Regions from separate parts of the Homo sapiens genome. Here region 2 is linked to region 1. The links are contacts of gene promoters, found by promoter capture Hi-C in human tissues and cell types (Jung and others, 2019). All regions are on one chromosome and are shown on one strand. The core of a region is centred on a gene start or on the middle of the fragment in contact, and the rest is flanking DNA. Distances in the headings are between cores, read along the strand shown. Region 1 holds the start of PAX7 (paired box 7). Region 2 has its middle 41 kb from the start of PAX7.

Region 1 (5,074 bases), core at 1,785-4,284:
GCAGGCCTGCCTGCGTCTTGGAGAGGCCAATAACGGGTGTGATGTGGCTCATCTGCTCAGTTCTACGCTCCTGGTAGTCATGAATGATCCAGTTTGTTGGGGGCTAGAAAGGCCTGGCTGATTACTACATTTACAGCTCTGGCTAGAGCCGTGGAACTGTCCCAGGGAACAGCTGAGGCACAGCCGAGGGACGGGTGACATATGCTGTTGGCTGCTGCCTCCAAGGGCACCTGGTTGTCCCTTGGGTGACTCTCCTTGCTTCTAACCACCCTCGAAGTCCTAATTTCGTTTTGGGACAATTTTAGGACACTACTGCCCCAAAGCTCCTAAATTAAATAGTCGACTTGGCCTCACAAATCCATGAACTGTGCCTGCAGGCTCTGCGAGGCTGGTAGGCAGATGGGACACAGTCCCCCCGGGTGGGGGTGACTTTGGGAACCGGGAAGACAGGCATCACTGGTGTGTGCTGGGGAGGGGAGAACGCCTGGTTGCCTTAATGCAAAGTCTACACAATTTCCTCACAGAAGATTGGGGGGACACCCAGCGCACTAATCCGGCCTCGATCCCCCCAATTTGGGGACTCAGCGGCTGCGGAGATCTGGAAGATTAGAACGATTTCACAGCCGCGGGAGTGGAGGGAGCTGACTGTAATTGAAAGGGAGGAGGCGAGAAGAGGCTCCGCTGCTGGGCCGTTCCTACCGCCCCCTCCCTCGCTCTCCCGGTCCCCCCACCTCTCTTTGTAAAAGTCGGTGTCTGAAGCCACTCTCGGATTTAATCAGAAATCGTGCGTCGCAAAGTCGGAGTCACTCGGTCTCCGTGGCGGGATATGCCATTAGCGCTCAAGAGCTCTCGAGCGCCCAACTTTATATTCAAGAGCCTCTTTAGCGACCGGCACTCGGCTCTCCTCAGTATTCTGCGTCATGTTGGGCAAATATTGTTCTAATCCGCCGCGCGTCCTCAGCCGCCTGTTTTACTTGCATTCGCTACAGGAGAGTGCCACTGCAAATCCCCGGGTTTGCGCGCTCTCCCGCCTGCGTGGCTGCCGGCGCGCACTTGATCACGGAGCCGCTCTCTTCGCCTCTGTCTAATTCAGGGACCCGGCGCCGTCTCGCTGCCCAAGGGAGCTCCTCCCGGATCGCAGGCTGCCAGCCCACCCACCCCCTCCCTGCCTCCTCTCCCCTTCCTCACGCGCCAGGGACTCAAACGATCACAGGAAGAGTAATTTAAAAAAAAAAAGTCGCACATATTTCTAATGACTTCTCTGTGACACCCTAGGCTACCTACCCTCAGAAGCCAAATGATCCCTCAGTGACAGGTTGAGGCCTTCCATTAGTTTAAAAAGAAAACAGAACAAAAACACAGGAGCGGGTCTCTCCGCTGTGCGCTCCCAGCCTTTTCTCCAGCCAGGACCCGGTTCGCCGCCGCCCGTCCTATCGGGTCTCCCCGGGCGGGCGCTGGATGTTTAGGAAGGACGCTTTACAAAATCAGCTCTTTCTTCTCGTTTGGACATTGCCGTGCCCCTCTCGCCGTTTAGAGGTTCTCTAAACCTCGCCGTTTAGAGGTTCTCTCCCGGGAGATTTCCAGAGTGCGGAAGCCCGAGTAAAAAGTTTTAGGGGGAAAATCATTACTAATTATTATTTCCAATTAGTTTGTTTCCAGGCGGAAAAGCAGGAGTGTTTGACTGTGGCTTCGGAAGAAATGGATAGCCGTGGTAGTTGAGGCATATAAAGTATCACCCATGGTAGGTGGTTCGAAATAAAGGACTGGAAGACCAATCCCGGGGGTGGAAAAAATAATTCAAAACAAGAGTAGAAAGCTGGCAGCCAGCGAGCCAGGAGAGCCGAGAAACTGTCAGGGAAGAAGTGTCTGGAAATAGTGGAAAGAGCTGAAATTCACCAGGACCTGATATTTACTAGGAGTCCAAATCTACCAGAATTTCAGCCCTGCGGGTAAAGACCGGCAGCTAGCGACCTGCGAAACGAAGGCCGCCGGGCAGTGAAACCCACGCAGAAGCGGACAAGTATGGGTCCCAGAAACTCCCTGGGTTCCGCGCCCGGACTGGGACCCAGAAGAGAACGGGATCCCTCTGCTATCGCCGGCGCCGCCACCGTCCCCTGGAGACCGCAGCCTCTCCAAGGACCCCGAGTTCCGGGCGGCGGAGTCGCGGCGAGGCCAGCCTGGGCGTTCTTACCTTCCAAAGGGAATCCCGTGCGGGGGTAGTTCTGCCCCGGAGCCGGCCGCATCATTCTCGGTACCGTGCCGGGAAGGGCCGCCATTCTTGCGCACGCCGGGGACGAATCCAAAGTCGGCAAAAATCGCTTCCCGTCCGCTCCCTTCACCCCTGCTGCGATCTCTTTCTTTCCGTCTTCTTCGTCTTCTTTTTTTTAACCTCTTCTCCCTCCCCTCCACACACACTCCCTACCCCCACCCCCCACCCCTGGCTGCAGTCAAACGCGTCCAGAAGCTGGGGAGGGGGGTGAGGTGGGGTGGAGGTTGGGGGGAGGGAAGGTGGCGACGACGAGGAAGTTCAAACAAACAAACACTCCAACCCCAAGTCCGCCTCTGCCGGCTGGCCTCGGCCAGAAGTTGTGCGGGCTGATGCGCCTGGCAGAACCCGGAGACCAGGCCCCGCGGCGGAGGGGGGCCGGGGGAACGCGGCCGGAATCGAGGCCGCCAGCCTCAGAGTGGCGAGCGCCGCGCTCTCGCGCTCTGGCGCTCTGGCGCTCGGGGCCAAAGTTTCCGAGCCCGGAGACTGCGGAGTGGATTTCGTTCTCGTATTTATTTATATATTTATTCTCTCGCTCTCGCTCCCTCCCTCTTCTCCACGCCTTCTTTCTCCGGACCACACTCGCTTCTCCCTCCACACCAGCTTTCACAGCCCCGTCCCCTAGGAGACCCGGGGACAGACGGAAGAAGGAGCCTCCTCGGGTTTCAGGGCTGGACGGAGGAGACAGGGGGTGACGGGGTTGGGGAAAGAGAAATGGAAAAGCGAGGGGGCGCGAGTGATCAGCTGGGTAAGTTGTGCAAAAGTGTTCACCGAAGTACGAGGAGGAGGAGGAGGAGGAGGAGGAGGAGGCAGTGAGCGCGATCTGATAGGTTCGGACTTTTCTTTTATTCATGAGGAGGGAAGGGGGCCAGGGCGCAAGGGAGCGGAGGACCAATAACGAAAAGAAATCGCCAACGAATATTTTTTTCCCTCTTTTCTAATCCCCGGCTCGACCTCGTTTTGGGGGAGAATTTGAACCGCCGTGAAAAGAGAGGGAGCCGATCCCGGCGAGTTGGGGGCTGGGGGAGAAGGGGAGGGGGCCAACTTTGTCCCAGTGCCTTCCTTTGATGAATGGGCCGGATCCGCCGAGTCCCCGGCCCCCAGGTCGCCCACGGCTGCTCTCGGAGTCCCGGCTGTATGGGAATGTCTGCCTCGGGTCCGGCGCCTCTCTGGAGTCTCGCCTTTTCTCTGGCCTCCGAGGGCCAGAGTCCGCCCTATTTCTCATCTTCTCCCTCGTCTTACACCCTCTGAAATTCCTCCAGTGAGGCTCCCCGGGAACCGGCCTAGGGTGACTTGAAGGGAGGAATTCTGACCTTTTCTGTGTAATGTCAGAGCCCCGGTGTCCGGTTCTTACTCTACCTTCCTGCCGCTCTGAGAAGCCCCCAGTAACCGTATCTGGTTCCGAGGCTTGGCAAAGTGGGTCTGCCAAGTGCTAGGCACAGGTTTCTTCCTCCCCTTCCAGTTCCGCCCCGTGCAGACGTCTCCAGCCGCCGCCGTCCTCCTCAGGCCCCCAGGCCGGGCCTATAACTCCTTTCCAGCAGGTAGTTGGGTTTACAGGGAGTTGGTGCTGGTGTGAGGATCTGGGGGCCCAAAGAGGTGGGAAATGGGAGGGAGGGAGCCCGTCAAGACTTGATACAGCTCTGAACTCACCAACTCTGAGCTCCTTGCTGGTGGGTTTGAGGGGACGCCCCAACTGAATGATCAGGAGTCAGGGTGGGGTGATCAGAGGTTCCTGAATTCTTCGCTTTCTGAAGCCAGGGTGACCAGTAGCCTCAACCTCGGGACACCGAGTCCTGGGGGCGAAACGCCCTCCCAGCGGGGCAGGACGCCACAACTGCAGGCCTTTTGTCTCCCGGGGGAAAGAGCGTCTCTGGCCCCACGCTGGAGGCAAAATACAATAAAATGAACCCAGCCCTCAATCTCACCCCCTGCCCGCCCTCTCTCGGCAGTGGGGTCAGCCTTGTCTTAGCCTGGGGCGCTCACCGCTGGCTGGCCCCAGGGTGTCCCCATCCCTCCCCTTCGCCTCACCTGTGACCTTTGCCCCTTGCAGCATGTGACAGATCTCCCTCCTCTCCCCACTCTCCTAGCACAAGGGGCTCATCAGATTTTGGGGGGGCCTTCTGGGAATGGGGGCCCTGATGAAAAACTTGTTGAGCTCATACTCTCTCTAACTGAGAAGACAGATGCCAAGTAGCTTTCGAATTGGAAGGGGGACACCGGGGTACTTTGCCTGGCCCAAGTTATGGGGCCCTCCCCCGGGAGAGATTGGGAGATCAAGCTTTAAGCCATAGCATGTGTGCCCAGGGAAGACAGCAACCCCCTTACATCACCAGCCTTGCTGGGGACCTGGCCTGCTTTGACCTCCATAGGTGGATATATATTCTCTGTGTGTATATATACATGTATTTGTATCATATACACTTATGCATACACACGTATAACACACACACATATATATTAGGTATATTGCATATTCATCCATTCATTCGTCACTAGCTGTCCTCTGCCTGGAAGGTTTCAAGGCACTTCTTCCCTGTATTTGTGGAATGGGCCAGTGTGCTTGCGTGTGAATATAGGCCTGTGCCCGGGTCTGTGTGTCAAGGTGCAGGTGGGTTTTGTGTGTAGGTCTGTTTGGGGTCAGTTTGAGTAAATGTGTGTTTCTAAGTGAGGGTCCATGTCTGTATTTCTGCTTTGAGGTCACCTCCAGGTTGCCTTGGTATGGCTCTAAGCGCGCGTCAGGAATGTGTGAGTGTGTGTTTAGGTCAATTCTCAAGTGAGAAAAGACCTCCAGGGTGTGCCAAGGGTGGG
Region 2 (5,090 bases), core at 1,896-4,395, 41 kb after region 1:
CTGGGTCACTGTGGGCTCTAGAGGGAGGGAAGGGGGAAGGGAGTGTGAAGGAGGTGCACCCACTGTGGAGTATAAAAGGGACACATAGACTTCCATTCATAATCTGTTGGTGAGAACTCAGCATCATGTGACCTTATCTAACTGCAAGGGAACCTGGGAAATGTAGTCTTACGATGTTCCTGATGAGAAAGGAAGAATGAATTTGAGCAGACAACTGGTGGAGTGGAAATGAGTACCAGTGCTTTAGAAAATGATGTGTCAGTGTCTGCCAGAGTTCACATACACACACTGTATGGCCCAGCCATGGTACTCCTAGGAGGGCTCAGCAGAAATGAGCACATATTTGTACCAAAAGACATAGGCAAGAGTGTTCTATTCCTAATGCTACTGTTTATTATTATTAATTTTTTTAAGAGACAGGGTGTATCTCTGTTGCCCAGGCCTGTGGTATAATGGTGCAATCATAGCTCACTGCAGCCTCCAACTTCTAGGTTCAAGCTATCCTCCTACCTCAGCGTTTTAAGTAGCTGGGACTATAGGTGTGCACCACCACACCCTGCTAATTTTTAAACTTCTTTGTAGAGATGGGGTCTCACTATGTTGCCCAAGCTAGTCTCAAACTCCTTGCCTCAAGTGATCCTCCCACTTCGGCCTCCCATAGTGTTGGGATTATAGACGTGAGCCGCCATGCCCAACCTAATTCCTATTACTAATTATTAGTAATATTATTAATTCCATAACAGTATTCCTAATAGCCCAAATATCCATCAGCAGTAGAATGCTTGAACACATTGTAATATAGTCAGACAATGAAAAACTCTACAGTGATTAAGATGGACAAAGTACTGCTGTGCATCACAGCAAGGATGGATCTTACACAGTGTTGAGTGAAAGAAGTCAGACACCAAAGAGCACATGTGGGTCCAGTACAGTGGCTCATGCCTGTAATCCCAGCACTTTGGGAGGCTGGGTGAGGCAGGTGGATTGCTTGAGCCCAGAAATTTGAGACCAGCCTGGGCAACATGGTGAAACCTCGTCTCTGCAAAAAATACAAAAATTAGCTGGGTATGGCTGGGCGCGGTGGCTCATGCCTGTAATCCCAGCACTTTGGGAGGCCGAGGTGGGCGGATCACGAGGTCAGGAGATCTAGACCATCCTGGCTAACACGGTGAAATCCCGTCTTTACTAAAAATACAAAAAAATTAGCTGGGCATGCGCCTGTAATCCCAGCTACTCGGGAGGCTGAGACAGGAGAATCACCTGAACCCTGGAGGCAGAGGTTGCGGTGAGCCGAGATCTCACCACTGCACTCCAGCCTGGGCAACAAAGCGAGACTCTGTCTCAAAAAAGAAGAAGAAGGAGAAGGAGAAGGAGAAGGAGAAGGAGAAGAAGAAGAAGAAGAAGAAGAAGAAGAAAAAACGAATTAGCTGGGTGTGGTGGTGCACACCTGTAGCTGCAGCTACTTGGTAGGCTGAGGTGGGAGGATGAGGCAGTCCCAGCTACTTGGTAGGCTGAGCCTGGGAGGTTGAGGCTGCAGTGAGCTGTGATGGTGCTGCTGCCCTCCAGCCTGGGTGACAGAGCAAGACACTGTTTCAAAAAAAAAAATTGTAAAAAAAGAGCACATATTTTTTTAAACTTTTTTTCCCATTTTTTTTCATTATTTGTCTTTACATATGTTTTGATTTACATTACAACGTGAAAAAATGCTCATCATCACTGGCCATCAGAGAAATGCAAATCAAAACCACAATGAGATGCCATCTCACACTAGTTAGAATGGCGATCATTAAAAAGTCAGGAAACAACAGATGCTGGAGAGGATGTGGAGAAATAGGAACACTTTTTCACTGTTGGTGGGACTGTAAACTAGTTCAACCATTGTGGAAGACAGTGTGGAGATTCCTCAAGGATCTAGAACTAGAAATACCATTTGACCCAGCCATCCCATTACTGGGTATATACCCAGAGGATTATAAATCATGCTGCTATAAAGACACATGCACACGTATGTTTATTGCAGCACTATTCACCATAGCAAAGACTTGAAACCAACCCAAATGTCCATCAACGATAGACTGGATTAAGAAAATGTGGGATATATACACCATGGAATACTATGCAGCCATAAGAAAGGATGAGTTCATGTCCTTTGTAGGGACATGGATGAAGCTGGAAACCATCATTCTCAGCAAACTATCGCAAGGACAAAAAACCAAGCACTGCATGTTCTCACTCATAGGTGGGAATTGAACAATGAGAACACTTGGACACAGGAAGGGGAACATCACACACCCGGGCCTGTCGTGGGGTGGGGGGAGGGGGGAGGGGGGAGGGATAGCATTAGGAGATATACCTAATGTAAATGACGAGTTAATGGGTGCAGCACACCAACATGGCACATGTATACATATGTAACAAACCTGCAGGTTGTGCACATGTACCCTAAAACTTAAAGTTATATAAAAACAAACAAATAAATAAAAACAGACAATACAGGATATTAGTTTGATGCAAAAGTAATCGCGGTTTTTGCCATTAAAAGTAATGACATTACTTTTAATGGCAAATTACTTTTAATGGCAAAAACCGCGATTACTTTTGCGCCAACCTAATAGAAATGGGAAAGGTGTTTCCTTTTGGGAGGAGAGGTATGATCACCAGGAGGAGAAGGAGGAGGGCTCTGGGGAGCTGGTCACGTTCCGGTTCTCAATCTGAGTAGCTATTTCACGGGGGTGCTTGCTTTGTGAAAATTCACAGTGCTGTTCCTTTATGATTTGTGACTTTCCTGTATACATGTTCTATTTCAATAAGCATTTTAATTAACAAAATTACTAAAAGGCAGAAGAATGTGAACAAGTGGAAAGATACATCGTATTGTGGCGGAGGGGGGGAGCGGCGGGGCTCAACACCGTGACATTTTAATTCTCTCTCAGCTAATTGATAAATATACTTTGATTCTGATAAAAAATATCCACAGTTTTTGTTGAATGAGGCATGCTTATCCTAAAGTTCGTATGAAAAATTAACCAGTAGGCATAGACAGGAAAATTCTGGAAAAAGAGGGTGCTCGGGGGAAGGACCAACCCATATTATGAAGCCTCAATCATTAAAACAATGTGGTTTTGACCCGTGAATAGTCAAGCAGACAATAAAATAAAAGAAAACTCAGAAATAGGCCTACATTAAATGGACAGTTAGTAAGGTTACCATACCAAACCAGCAAAGAAAAGCTGAATTATTTAATAAACGGTGTTGGACAACTGGAAAGACACCTGGAAAAAAAATCTGGATTTCTACTTTATATTTAAAATAAATGTTGAAGGAATCAAAAATTTAAGTGTGAAAATGAAGCTTAAACATTTTAGAAGGAAACATCAGAGAGTTTCTTTATGACTTTTAAATGAGGGACTTTCTAATTATGACTCAGAAATCTAGAAGCTATTAAAAATGGATAATTTACTTATTTTTTATTTTTCTTTAAAGACACGGCTTCATTATGCTGCCAAGATTGGTCTTGAACTCCTGGCCTCAAGCGATCCTCCCGCCTCAGCCTCCCTTGTAGCTGGGACTACAGGCATGTGCCACCATGCCTGGCTAATTTTTATTTATTCATTTATTCATTTATTGTAGAGATGGGGCAGTCCTAGGTTGCCCAGGCTGGTCTTGAACTCCTGGCCTCAAGCGATCCTCCCACCTCAGCCTTCCAAGTAGCTGGGACTACAGGTACGCACCACCATGGTTGGCTGATCAATTTACTTCTATAAAAATTGGCTGGGCGCAGTGGCTCACACCTGTAATCCCAGCACTTTGGGAGCCTGAGGCAGGCAGATCACCTGAGGTCAGGAGTTCGAGACCAGCCTGGCCAACATGGCGAAACCCTGTCTCTACTAAAAATACAAAAGTGGCTGGGCATGGTGGTGCAGGCCTGTAGTCCCAGCTACTAGGGAGGCTGAAGCAGGAGAATTGCTTGAACCCAGGAAGCGGAGGTTGCAGTGAGCTGAGGCGCGCCACTGCACTCCAGCCTGGGCGACAGAGCTAGACTTCGTCTCAAAAATAAAAAAATAAAAAATAAATAGATAAAAAAATAAAAAAAAATCTGCTTGTTAAAAAAAAAAATCCCATCATGAGCAAAGTCAAAAAAAAAATGACAATCTGGGACAAAATGTTTGTAACTCATATCAGAGGTAAAGGGTTAATCTCCCTCCTGAAGAACCTAGGGAAATTGATGAGAAAGTCAAACGACCCAAAATAAAAATGGGCAAAAGCTGTGAAGAGATAATTTAGAGAAAAGAAAATCCAAAAGTGCTTGAAGATAGGAAAAGAAGTTCAGCTCACCCATAGTAAGATCAATGCCCATTAAAGCTACAGACACATGTCACGTTCCCTGATCAAACTGCCAATCATCCAAATGTAAAATGACGCCTTCTGTTGGTGAGTGTGAGGGAGAAGTAGACATTCTCCTATGTCACCGCGGGGACAATGTCTAAGGGCACCTTGGCACTATCAATCAAAGTTTCAAACGCATGTTGTCTCTGACCGAGCGACTCCCCTGTGGGAATTTATCCTATAGAGATACTTGCACGTGTGAAATGACAACTGTATATAAGGCTGTTCATCACAACAATGTTTAGCAAATGGCTAAAAACAGCCCATGCCCTGCAATAAGGGGCTAGTTAATTCAATTATGGTCTGTCTAGACCACAGAATACCATGGTTAAGAGAAAAAATTAGAAGGAGAGAGACAGTGTGTTCAGTGTTTTACATTTTGTATCAATAGAGGGACAACCGAGACTCTATATTCTTATTTGCATGGAGATGCAGAAAAAAATGCTGGGAAGATACAGAAGAAAGCATGAACAGCGGTCACCTGTGGGGTCAATGCTGAGAACTGGGCAGATGAGGGACAGAGGTGGAAGGAGGATTTTTACTTCATATATTTTGATGTCTTTTGGTTTTTGAAGCACGTGAATACATTAGCTATTCAAAAATTAAAATGCAACAAAATGAAATTTAAAATAAAACTGCCCAAGGATGTACGTTATGCCTTATATACTTGTCTCTGTTCCTGAACACACCCTCTGTGACACATT

Evidence for each region. The method cuts DNA at HindIII sites, captures the fragments that hold promoters and counts their contacts. A contact is called where the count stands out against the background at its distance.
Region 2: a fragment that was not itself captured here is called in contact with the fragment with the promoter of PAX7 in region 1 in 3 of the 25 tissues and cell types used here (H1 embryonic stem cells, liver and thymus).

The regions. Positions count from the first base shown.
Region 1 is chr1:18,628,806-18,633,879 of GRCh38, reverse strand. PAX7 (paired box 7) reads right to left here and starts at 3,034. Exons shown (of 9, transcript NM_001135254.2): 1 at 2,192-3,034. The coding sequence starts at 2,276. RefSeq lists enhancers at 158-693, 90-1,703, 198-1,711 and promoters at 2,251-2,527, 2,251-3,161, 2,565-3,350. The HindIII fragment of the contact is 8,003 bases long and covers 1-5,074 here.
Region 2 is chr1:18,587,616-18,592,705 of GRCh38, reverse strand. No RefSeq gene overlaps it. Among named protein-coding and RNA genes, the nearest start is that of PAX7, 41 kb to the left of the region's middle. The HindIII fragment of the contact is 9,422 bases long and covers 1-5,090 here.